3 separate regions of the Homo sapiens genome follow, and all the other regions are linked to region 2. The links are contacts of gene promoters, found by promoter capture Hi-C in blood cells and fetal thymus (Javierre and others, 2016). All regions are on one chromosome and are shown on one strand. The core of a region is centred on a gene start or on the middle of the fragment in contact, and the rest is flanking DNA. Distances in the headings are between cores, read along the strand shown.

Evidence for each region. Contacts are between HindIII fragments. The CHiCAGO score rates a contact against its expected background, and 5 or more counts as called.
Region 1: a fragment that was not itself captured here is called in contact with the fragment with the promoter of SNRPF in region 2 in 1 of 17 cell types (activated CD4 T cells); the score reaches 7.5 in activated CD4 T cells.
Region 3: a fragment that was not itself captured here is called in contact with the fragment with the promoter of SNRPF in region 2 in 1 of 17 cell types (fetal thymus); the score reaches 5.6 in fetal thymus.

The regions. Positions count from the first base shown.
Region 1 is chr12:98,490,037-98,493,503 of GRCh38, forward strand. LINC02453 (long intergenic non-protein coding RNA 2453) reads right to left here. Exons shown (of 4, transcript NR_038383.1): 3 at 3,395-3,448. Among named protein-coding and RNA genes, the nearest start is that of TRD-GTC1-1, 12 kb to the right of the region's middle. RefSeq lists a silencer at 495-789. The HindIII fragment of the contact is 2,331 bases long and covers 507-2,837 here.
Region 2 is chr12:95,857,074-95,860,551 of GRCh38, forward strand. It overlaps SNRPF (small nuclear ribonucleoprotein polypeptide F), which reads left to right and starts at 1,879. Exons shown (of 4, transcript NM_003095.5): 1 at 1,879-2,003. The coding sequence starts at 2,001. SNRPF-DT (SNRPF divergent transcript) reads right to left here and starts at 1,766. Exons shown (of 3, transcript NR_135014.1): 1 at 1,681-1,766. RefSeq lists enhancers at 1,588-2,203, 1,602-1,661, 1,712-1,771, 1,892-2,121, 2,152-2,201. The HindIII fragment of the contact is 4,587 bases long and covers 1-2,621 here.
Region 3 is chr12:98,638,170-98,641,917 of GRCh38, forward strand. All of the region lies in intron 1 of IKBIP (IKBKB interacting protein), which reads right to left. Among named protein-coding and RNA genes, the nearest start is that of IKBIP, 4.7 kb to the right of the region's middle. The HindIII fragment of the contact is 4,214 bases long and covers 1-3,748 here.

The sequences.
Region 1 (3,467 bases), core at 422-2,921, 2.6 Mb after region 2:
CCTCCCAAAGTGCTGGGATTATAGGCGTGAGTCACCATGCCCAGCCAAAAATTTTATTTTTTACCTTTTTAAGGTGCAAGACTCTCAGTAAATTCTCTCCTGGTTAAGGAAAAATATCTGGAAAGGGAAGGGGATTCTCTACTGAAAGTAGATTTTCCCCACAAGAGACACCTTTGCAGGGCCATTTCAAAATGTGTCAAAAATATATATATATTTTTTGGGGTAAACTACTTCAATTTACTTCAGGGCCTGCTGTCTGTCATGTTGGTATCTTACTGCTACAAAAAGCCTTCTTTGTCAGACTTATGTTAATGCTGGTCAGATGTGCCTGAATCCCAAAGGGACTCTGTCCCAAAGGGAGGAGAGTATAATGAGGCTTGTCTGACCACCTGTTCCCATCATGACATGAACTAGCGTTTCAGGTAACTTTGGAATGCCCCTGGACAAGGAGGCATCCATTCAACTGATTGGGGAGCTTAGAATTTTATTTTTGGTCTACATGGTAAAGCTTAAAGTTGCGGAAATCATTATCCTCAGTCAAGCTAAAGCCTAGGTATCCAGACCTCTCTTTCACCTAATTTATTTGCAATTAATCCAAAGTTCTAGGCCAGGCACAGTGACTCACACCTGTAAACCCAGTCCTTTGGGAGGCGGAAGCATGGAGGATCACCCGAGGCCAGGAATTCAAGGCTGCAGTGAGCTAAGATTGCACCACTGCTCTCCCGCCTGGGTGACAGAGCAAGACCCTGTCTCTAAAAGAAATTTTTAAAACAAATAACAAAGTACTGGTTTATGCTGTATTTATAAAACAACATATGTAGTAAGATTTTCTTAGTTTTAGAACCCAGAAAGCTGTGCCAAATGCTTTGAGAGTTGACTTATTTCCTATTAGGTTTTTTAAATACTTGCAGTCCAGATACTGCTTTTAATTTTTTAAAAAACAGTATCCATACTTACAGGCTCTGATTAAGTTTCAAAGACTAAGCCTGCCATGCTTGTCGGTGTGTGATTCCTTCCTCTAAGATTCCAGACATTCCCGTCTCCAGGCATCACTGTGTCGGGGGAGCGCTGTGTGAAAATGGCTGTGATCTTTGTGCGGTTTGTCCGGTTATACCTCACTGGGACACCAGAGGGCGCAAGGAGGGCCAGCACTTGTTTTTCTTTAAATCTCGAATCAAAGTCCATGCAGAGAACAACAAAAGACCCGGAACACAGGGGCCTTGAGACAAAGGGACTCAGGGGAAAAGGCTGCACGCCCTGTTTTACTGAAGTGGAATTTGCTTCTTCACCCTCCTCACCTCCTCACCTCCTCCCCACCTTAAGGAACTAGAAATAAACAACTTAAGCTGCAAAATAATGAAATCTGGCTAACAAGGAAAACCAAACTAGAATACATTACTCAACATGTCATAGGCTAAGAGGACTATCACAAATGTACATTTGAGCTATTTGCTTTGCCTAATATTAATAACTTTAAAGAAAATTTTATTGTTTGCTTTTCTGAGTTCAATATATGCACATAGTAGAAAATTTAGAAAAGGTGGAATAGCAAAAAGAACAGCGATCATCAACACACTCTTAACCCAGATATAACTACTTTTAATATCTTCAGCTACTTCTTTCCAGATGTTTTCTTCTTTCTTTCTTCCTTTTTTTTTTTTTTTTTTTTGAGACGGAGTCTCACTCTGTCCCCATGCTGGAGTATAATGGCGCGATCTAGGCTCACTGCAACCTCCGCCTCCCAGATTCAAGTGATTCTCCTGCCTCAGCCTCCCGAGTAGCTAGGATTATAGGCACCCACCACCACGCCCAGCTAATTTTTGTATTTTTAGTAGAGACGGGGTTTCACTCTGTTGGCCAGCCTGGTCTCGAACTCCTGACCTCAAGTGGTCCTCCCGCCTCAGCCTCCCAAAGTGCTGGGATTACAGGCATGAGCCACCGCACCCAGCCACCAGACGTTTCCAGTACTTACAAATGCATAGAAAAAAAATGGGATTCTGCGTGCTATTTTGTGCTGGTTCTCTTCTTATTTTCTAGATCACTAACTTCATTTTATTGATAAATTCTGATAATAAAACTTTGCTAATCATATGAGTTAATCACAGGTAGGAGAATAAGAAATTTCAAAAGCTACAGGCAGCTTTTTTCCCAAAATAGCAGCAACTTGAATGCCAGACCTGAGTCATGCATTTGAAGCAGAAGTTTTTCTGTTGCTTTGTGTTTAGAAAACACGGAAAGACTAAAGAAAAGGCCTGTCGCAGTGGCTCACACCTGTAATCCCAGCACTTTGGAAGTCCAAGGCGGATCACAAGGTCAGGAATTTGAGACCAGCCTGGTCAACATGGTGAAACCCTATCCCTATTAAAAATACAAAAATTAGCCAGGCATGGTGGCCCGCACCTGTAGTCCCAGCTAATCGGGCAGCTGAGGCATGAAAATTGCTTGAACTTGGGAGGCGCAGGTTGCAGTGAGCCAAGGTCACACCACTGCACTCCAGCCTGGGTGACAGAGTGAGACGGGTCTCAAAAAAAAAAAAAAAATCCAAAGAAAAGAAGTAGAAACTGTTCCATCCCACCCCAAACAGGCTGAATAATTTGTCCTTCTGGGTAGCCTGAGGACTGAATGCCAAAGGGCCAGGGGGTGTGGGTCACCAGGACCCTTTGTTCCTCACACTGGGGCTAGTGTTTGCCTCAAAGCTAGACAGATCAGTAAAGCTATTAACCGGGATAGGTCAGCAGGTGGTCAGTAGGGCAGGAAAAAAGTCAGGAAAACGGAGGTCACTGATCTCCTGTTGGGTTGGGGCCAATGTTGGCAGGCAGGTTCCTTAAAGGACAGGAAGCTTAGGCCAGCCCAGGAACAGATAACTCTAAGGAAAGTGATGGCAAGATCTGAGGCCCTGAAAACCTCTGAGGGACACCTAATCACTAAGCCCACAGATTCCTTAATTTACAGCAACAGATAAAGGTGATGTTCTCGGCCACAGGAATTTAGTTAAATCACTGGAGCTGTCTGGCCTCAGTTTCCTTATCTGTATAACGAAAGGATCAAGAAGATAGGTAAGGTTCCTGTCAGTTCCTCAAAGATTGTGATGTTTAATTCTCCCCAGTCATGCATTATAATGAAAGGTGAAGACATTTCCTGCCCCCTGCCACTCCAGTCCCCTAAGCAGCAGCCCCTCCACCATATACTCTTTCCCGCATTGCCACTTTTCCCAAATTGCCACATGCTCTGAGCCTTTGTATTAATGTTTCTCTGTTCCCTAAGTGCTGGAAAACATTTCCCCCATTCTTTTTCTAAGTTCATCATCATTCTTTGGTGGCCCAGCTAAAAATAGGTCTTTCTTTGACCACTCCAGCCCTTCCCTCTCTGTAATCCCGTAGTATTCTGCACATACCTCCATCACTTTCTACCTCTGTAGCCTTCATCTTCCAGTGCCTCAGTTTCCTCACTGTAAAAAGGAGAAAATT
Region 2 (3,478 bases), core at 629-3,128:
CACTATCTTTACAGAATGTGTTTACTGTAGTATTTCGTTTCACTTCACTGAGAAAACAGCTAAAGAGTCAGGCTTCTAAAACACATATTGAGTCTTTGAAAGGTAGCTTCATGAAGTAGAAAAAGCAGAGTTTTGAAACCCAGGTATGTGGTCCTGAGCAAGCTATGAGGCAGAAGAATAGCGGCTGGAAGCAGGGAACCTAGGGCCCATCCATGCTGACTGGGTATCAGAGGCTACTCCCATTTCAACCCCTCCTTTTTCTGCGTGGCAGTTGAAAAATGAAAGTACCTCTTATTGGTCCCCTCCCGCAACCAATCAGACTGGTTGTGGGCCAATGGGCAACCTCTAGAGGGTATTTAAAGCCCAGAAAATTCTATAACCAATGCTCTTGAGCCGCTTGCACCAGGCGGTGCCCACCCTGTAGAGTGTACTTTCATTTAAAATAAATCTCTGCTTTCGCTGCCCTGCTTTGTTTGTGCGTTTTGTCCAATTCTTTGTTGAAAACGCCAAGAACTCGGACAGCTACCCTCAACTGGTAACAGTTACCTGCTGGGCCTACTTCCTCATCTCTTAAACGGGGCTGTCACCCCGAATCAGACAGTAAGGTAAGATTTCCACGATTGTTGAAAAAGCCTGACACATAGTAGGAACTCAAAGTCTATACAAAGACTTAAAGTTCATAAAACAATAGACAAACGGAGAAATCCACTGAAGTTTAGGGTGAATAAATCTAATAACTGTTTGGTAAAAACTACACTGACAATCATTGTCTGGTCAGTGTTCAACATTTACGTGAAACACTGAGCTTTTACAAGGCCAAGCCCCGTTTTACGTTAAATTCTCGCAACCACCCTGAGGATGGTTCCGTTTTTAAAGCCGCGTTCCTGCCGAGGAAACAATGGCCCTCGGGGTTAAGACACTGCCCAACACCGGCCGCGCCTGATAGACGCAGGTTCCGAATGCAGGCCCCCTCCAAAGTCTTGCCCACTGCTCCACAATGCCTCAACACCCAACATTTCATCCTCAACTCCAAATCCATCTCTTCAGGGCCGCAAAAAAGCGTTACTTCCCAAAGGGCGTGTTCTCCAAGAACTGCATTTAGCATTTCAGATCAGAGTGACCCGAACTCAATAGGATTACGACAAAAACTAGTGAGATTCAGATAACACCGTTACATCGAAAGTTTTAATCCGTGACAGAGGAAATATTGCTTACGCCCTTAGGTAATTTCAAATGCACGTATGAAGGCCGTGCGGGTTTCTGCAGGCGAAGCAAAAGAAAGGTGGGGCCGGCAGGGTCGTGGGGCGGGGGTGGGGCATGACACCGTATCCCAGACGCAACTCGACCTCGTTTGCAAGAAATTCTGTATCCAACTCTCTTCAGTGCGTTTCGCCGCCCCTAGTCTAGTCTGGCTAGCCCCCAATTCCTTTAAAAGGGGTTAAAACGGGTGTTGCAGAAGAGAGAACACTCAGGTAGAAAGGGCCTGCGGCAGAGGCGCCCCCAAATCATGGAACCTGTTGGAAGAGTGAGGAAGGAACTCTGGGACCCCGAACATTCTCACGGGTGTAAAAAGACAAAGTAAATCCCCATTAGCCAAGTTGGGGAGAAGTCACATCCGTTACACAGCCTCTCCCAGACCGCCCTCTAGGAAGGACACCACATTTAAAAACACCGGCCTGCCTCCAGTCCTTGGCTGCCTCACAGCGATGCTCAGAGCCGGTTTCCCAAGGTCCGCGCGCCGCCTGCAAGGCGCAAACCCAAGCCGCTGCTGGTTGCTAGGAGATACTGGGCCAGCCATCTCCTCCAATCAGCACGCACCTCTTTGCGTCCAATCACAGAGGCAGGAAGGGCCGTGGTGGGAGGTGAAAGGTCATAGTCCTGTTTGGCGGCCATTTCTCTTGAAACTGCGGCTCGGGACCTGCGGTACCTGCTGTAGTCACGAGGGACGGGCGGCGGCCTGGTCGGCAGAGAGTAGCCTGCAACATTCGGCCGTGGTTACGATGGTAAGGAGAAAGAGAACGGCGGGAGAAGCGGGGAGAAAGAGAAGGAGGGAGACCAGCCTCGCGGGGCCTGCTGGTTCCTTCGCGCGTTTCCCATTCATCCGCGTGAGGCGCCGCGCACCCTGTCGCCAGCTCCTTTCACTCTGCTTTTAGGTTTCTGAGGCGCGTGCTCCTCCCGATGCCTTTCTTTTCCTAGGAGTGCCCGTGCCTTCTTCTCTTTGTTTGAATCCGGGCCTGGGGTATTCTTAGTTGGGGCTATAGGGTCGGGGTAAAAGTCAAAGAGAATTTGCACTTCCCACTTAACCACACTCCAGAATTCACTTTCATTCCGTGAAAGTAATGATACGGCCATGCTCTAGATTAACTCACTTGGGTGGGGAAGACAGACATTAGTCAAAAAATAACAAGTATGTAATTGCAAATAATAAGTGCTAAGAACAATGCAGACAGGAGGCTGTGAGGGTGCGCGTTAGACATTAGAGGCTTAGTCAGAGATGGCCTCCCTAGGAGGTGGAATTTAACTCGAAGCCTAAGTGTCATGAAATACGACCCTTTAAAGAGCAGGAGGAGGAGTGTACCGAGCACAGGGAATAGGAGCATAAGACCTGCGGCCGGAAAGAAAGCTTGGTCATTTGGAGAAATTGACAGAAAGGTATAGCCACTTGCGCGAATAGTGGTTAAGAGATGGTATCGGAGGAGCAGGCGTTGGGCAGGACCTCTTAGGCTGTATTGGGAGGTTTTGATTGTACTCCAAATCAATTTAAAATGATTCGGTTGGAAGCCATTGGATCATTTTAAGCAGAAATATGACAATCTGATGTGCACTTTAAAAAATCATAGTTACTGTGGTGGATAACAAATTGGAGAATGAAAACTGGAGACCCATTAGGTTATTGGAGTAATCGCCATATCAAGATCACTCCGAATATGCTCATGTTAGAGGGGGTTAGTAGCCAAGTTTCTTAGTTCTCTTCTTTGTTTGACTGGTGAGTGAGCAGAAGAGGGCAAAAACCGAAATCACTGGAGATGTTAATGGTTTGCTGAATAAATAGACATTAAGTAATTGCTGTAAGTAAGAGGCGGTGCTACTGACAAAGTCAGATAGGACCTAGCCCTAGCTTCCCCAGTTAAATACTGTCAAGCGTGATCTGCCCTCTGCTTCCTTCTGTAGTTTTATATTTGGGGCTTTGACTGACAATGCTGAATTGTATGTCCCCAAAACCACCTTGTTGCATCACTCTTCCCTCCTTTTACATAAGTAGCTAGCCTTGCCTGGAACAGCATTTTTTCCCGCTCTGGAAATAAACTCTTATCCTTTAAAACTGAGGTATTACTTATTTCAGGCAACCTTTCCTTTTTCCCCTGGATTGCTTTGGTACCCTTGTGCCTAGTATATCTCCTTTTACTACAGTGCAGCATGCAATATAATTATTTGTATGTGAGGAGTTCCCCTCCCCATCTCCAACTTCTTGACAGGG
Region 3 (3,748 bases), core at 598-3,097, 2.8 Mb after region 2:
CTGATTAGGTGGGTGACTGGACTGCCTTAGCTCTGCCATTTACTAAGCTGTATAACCACTTTGGGCAAGTTAAATAACTTTGATGTTTCCTCATCTGTGAAGTGGGGATAATACCTTATTTTAATCTTATTTTTTAAAGACAAGATCTCACTCTATTTCCCAGGCTGGAGTGCAGTGGTGTGATCATGGCTCACTGTAGCCTCCCAGGCCCAATCCATCCTACCCCCTCAGCCTCCTGAGTAGCTGGGAACACAGGCGTGTGCCATAATGCCTGGCTAATTTTTTATAGAGATGGGGGTCTTCCTATGTTGCCCAGTCTTGTCTTGAACTCCTGGGCTCAAGTGATCCTCCTGCCTTGGCCTCCCAAACTGTTGGGATTATAGGTGTGAGCCAGAGCACCCAGCCAATACTTCATAGGGTTGTAGTTTGTTTTTCGACAAGGTCTCATTCTGTTACCCAGGCTGGAGTACAGTAGCCTGATCATAGCTTACTGCAGCCTTGAACTCCTGGGCTCAAGTGATTCTCCCACCTCAGCCTCTCAAGTAGCTAGGACCACAGGTACATTACCACCACTGGCTAATTAAAAAAAAAAATTCTGTAGAGAGGAGATCTGGCTATTTTGTTTGTTTGTTCGTTTTTTGAGGCAGCTGAAGAGGAAGAGGTCTACAGTGACACAATCATAGTTCACTGCAGGTCAAACTCCCTGGGCTCAAGCGATCCTCTCGCCTTGGCCTCCTAAAATGCTGGGATTATAAGTGTGAGCCACCATGCCTGGCCGAGTTATTGTAGACATTAGTTATTGCTATTTATAAAAGCTCCTGGAACAATAGAGCCATAGCACATCAGCTATTTCCTTTAAGTACTGTGGCCCCTTTTTTTTCTCTTTTTGGAGATGGAGTCTCACTCTGTTGTCCAGGCTGAAGTGCAGTGGTGTGATCTCGGCTCACTGCAACTTCCGCCTCCTGGGTTCAAGTGATTCTTCTGCCTCAGCCTCCCAGCTAGCTGGGATTACAGGTGCCCATCAACAAGACCAGCTATCTTTCTTTTGGACTACTTTGTGCAGCTACTCTTCCATCCTTCCTACATGCCTATGATTGCATAAGGGAAGCAGGGTTCCCGACCACTTGCACTTGATAGAAGCCCCAGGCCTGTCCCCCTTTGAACACTAAGTATAAACTGGGTTGTGTTTATGGCAAATGAAGGATGGAATAGATGGATTAGACCACTTATAAATCACTAAATAAAAATAACTCTCGTTTTTGGGCCTCTTCTCACTATCATATCATATGGCCTTGTGGAAGAGTGAGATACAGGAGAAAGGGACCCAGGCTACTTTTAGCGTAGGCCTTACAAAAAGAATCTTCCTGACTCCTTCATGAGCCATTGCAGTCTATAGAGACCTCATACAGATCTATCTAGGGTCCTGTGATAATGAATGGTTTACATTTTCCTACAGTGCATGGTGGTAATTAATGGTGTGTGTTGCCTCTGAATAGCTCCTTTAGGAACGTTAAATGGTGGCAGACAGCTGACTGAGGACTTACAAATTCAGGATTTCCTCTGGCTCTATTTCAGCTTAATAATGAAAAAGAGGCAAATAACCAAAGGAAGCTGTTACGGACCTTCTGCAAGGAAAGAAGTTCCAGGGCCACTATTAGGGTCAGTACCCATTTAGCCCTATGTTTCATACCATCTATAGCCTCAGTTTTAGCACAATACCTAGTTTTCAAGAAAACCTTGACCATATTCCATTTTTAAGAAGCAGGACATTTAAATTATACCCTTGTCTTTTAGATAAAACTCTACTAACACAAAGAAAAAAGCTGGAAATGGAGTTAGCCAAGGTTTTACAGTATGATTTATAGAGAAAATTATATTGGATAATTAAAACAAAAACCAGAGTTATACAACTTGCTTAAAGAGCTTTTGACTTTTTGTACATAATTATAACAGATACTATAAAAAACTTTTATAAAGGCAATTTAGGCCAGGCACGGTGGCTCACGCCTGTAATCCTAGCACTTTGGGAGGCTGAGGTGGACAGATCACCTGAGGTTGGGAGTTTGACACCAGCTTGACCAATGGAGAAACCCTGTCTCTACTAAAAATACAAAATTAGCTGGGCGTGGTGGCGCACACCTGTAATCCCAGCTACTCGGGAGGCTGAGGCAGGAGAATTGCTTGAACCTGGGAGGTGGAGGTGGAGGTTGCGGTGAGCTGAGATTGCGCCACTGCACTCCAGCCTGGGCAACAAGAGCAAAACTCCATCTCTCAAAACAAAACAAAACAAAACAAAACAAAACAAAACAAAAAAGCAATTAAAAAATCTATTGAAGTTTCCATAAGAAACAAAATTTTCACAATGGAAATTCCAGCTGATTAAATTTCTATGTAATTAAATAAGCATGAGTGACAGGTTTTGTGTCTTGTTTAGTAATTTAACAACTTTTTAACTTTCTGAAAGTAGAATCACCTCAATTCTTACCTGAAAAATTTCTATAAGAGTTTAGAAAAGAGCTATGCAAACTGACACTCAAGCCATATGGGTTTGGGCAACTTATCTCCAGTGTTTATTGTCAAGATGACATAGGATATATCAGGCCTTTTTTTTTTTGCAGGGTCTCACTTTGTCACCCAGGCTGAGTGCTGTGGTGCAATCAAAGCTCACTGAAACCTCAAATTCCGGGGCTCAAGCAATCCTCCAACCTCAACCCCCCAAGTAGCTGGGACTACAGGCATGCGCCACCATGCCTGGCTAATTTTTTGTATTTTTTGTAGAGACAGGGTTTTACCATGTTGCCCAGGCTGGTCTTGAACTCCTGAGCTCAAGATCCGCCCAACTCGGCCTCCCAAAGTGCTGGGATTACAGGTGGGAGCCACCACACCTGGCCTATCAGGCCTTTATTTAGCAGAGAGAAGATATTAAAGCAACACACTTTTAAGTTTCTTATGTATTATTTCTCTTTTCTTTCCACATAGGAAATGGTCTGAAGACAATGATATAGTGTGATTCCTTGAAATCCTTCTTGGGCAGTGGAAGGGTTCAGATTTTTTCCCTCCAACTTAATCAGATGAAGAGTGAGAGTAAGCAGTATTTAAGAGTACACAGACAGGCACACATATGCACTTGTATTTTAACCACCAGGGCCGTGTCAGTACGGAAAGCATTTAATAAAGATTTGATAGACCGACTTTTAGATGCTGAATTACGTGTTTTAGTGGTAAAGATCTCAATGGCTTTGTCAAAATTCTAGTGAGCTTTTAAGTATTTTAAGATGCCAAATACTTGCTTTTTATCTGGAAAATGTTTACAAATGTCTTATGGGGATATATTTTTATTTCAAAATTTACTATGAATAAATATTTTGCAATAAACAGCAACCAAAGTACATTTGCTTCAATTTTTGCAGCAAAAGATTTCACAAGAGCAACTAAGAGGCAACTATTTAAATAATAATTATAGAATCTGCCCATAAAAAACACATATAATACATACATTTTAGAGAGACAGGGTCTTGCTCTGTCTCTCAGGCTGGAGCACAGTGGTATAATCATGGGTTACTGCAGCTTTGACTTCCCAGACTCAAGCTATCTTCTCACCTCAGCCTCCCAAGTACCTGGGACTACAGCGAATGCCACCACACTTGGCTAATATTTAAAAATTTTTCGTAGACACGGTCTCACTATGTTTCCCAGGCTGGTTTCAAACTCCTGACCTCAAGCAATTCTCTCGCCTCAGTTTCCCAAA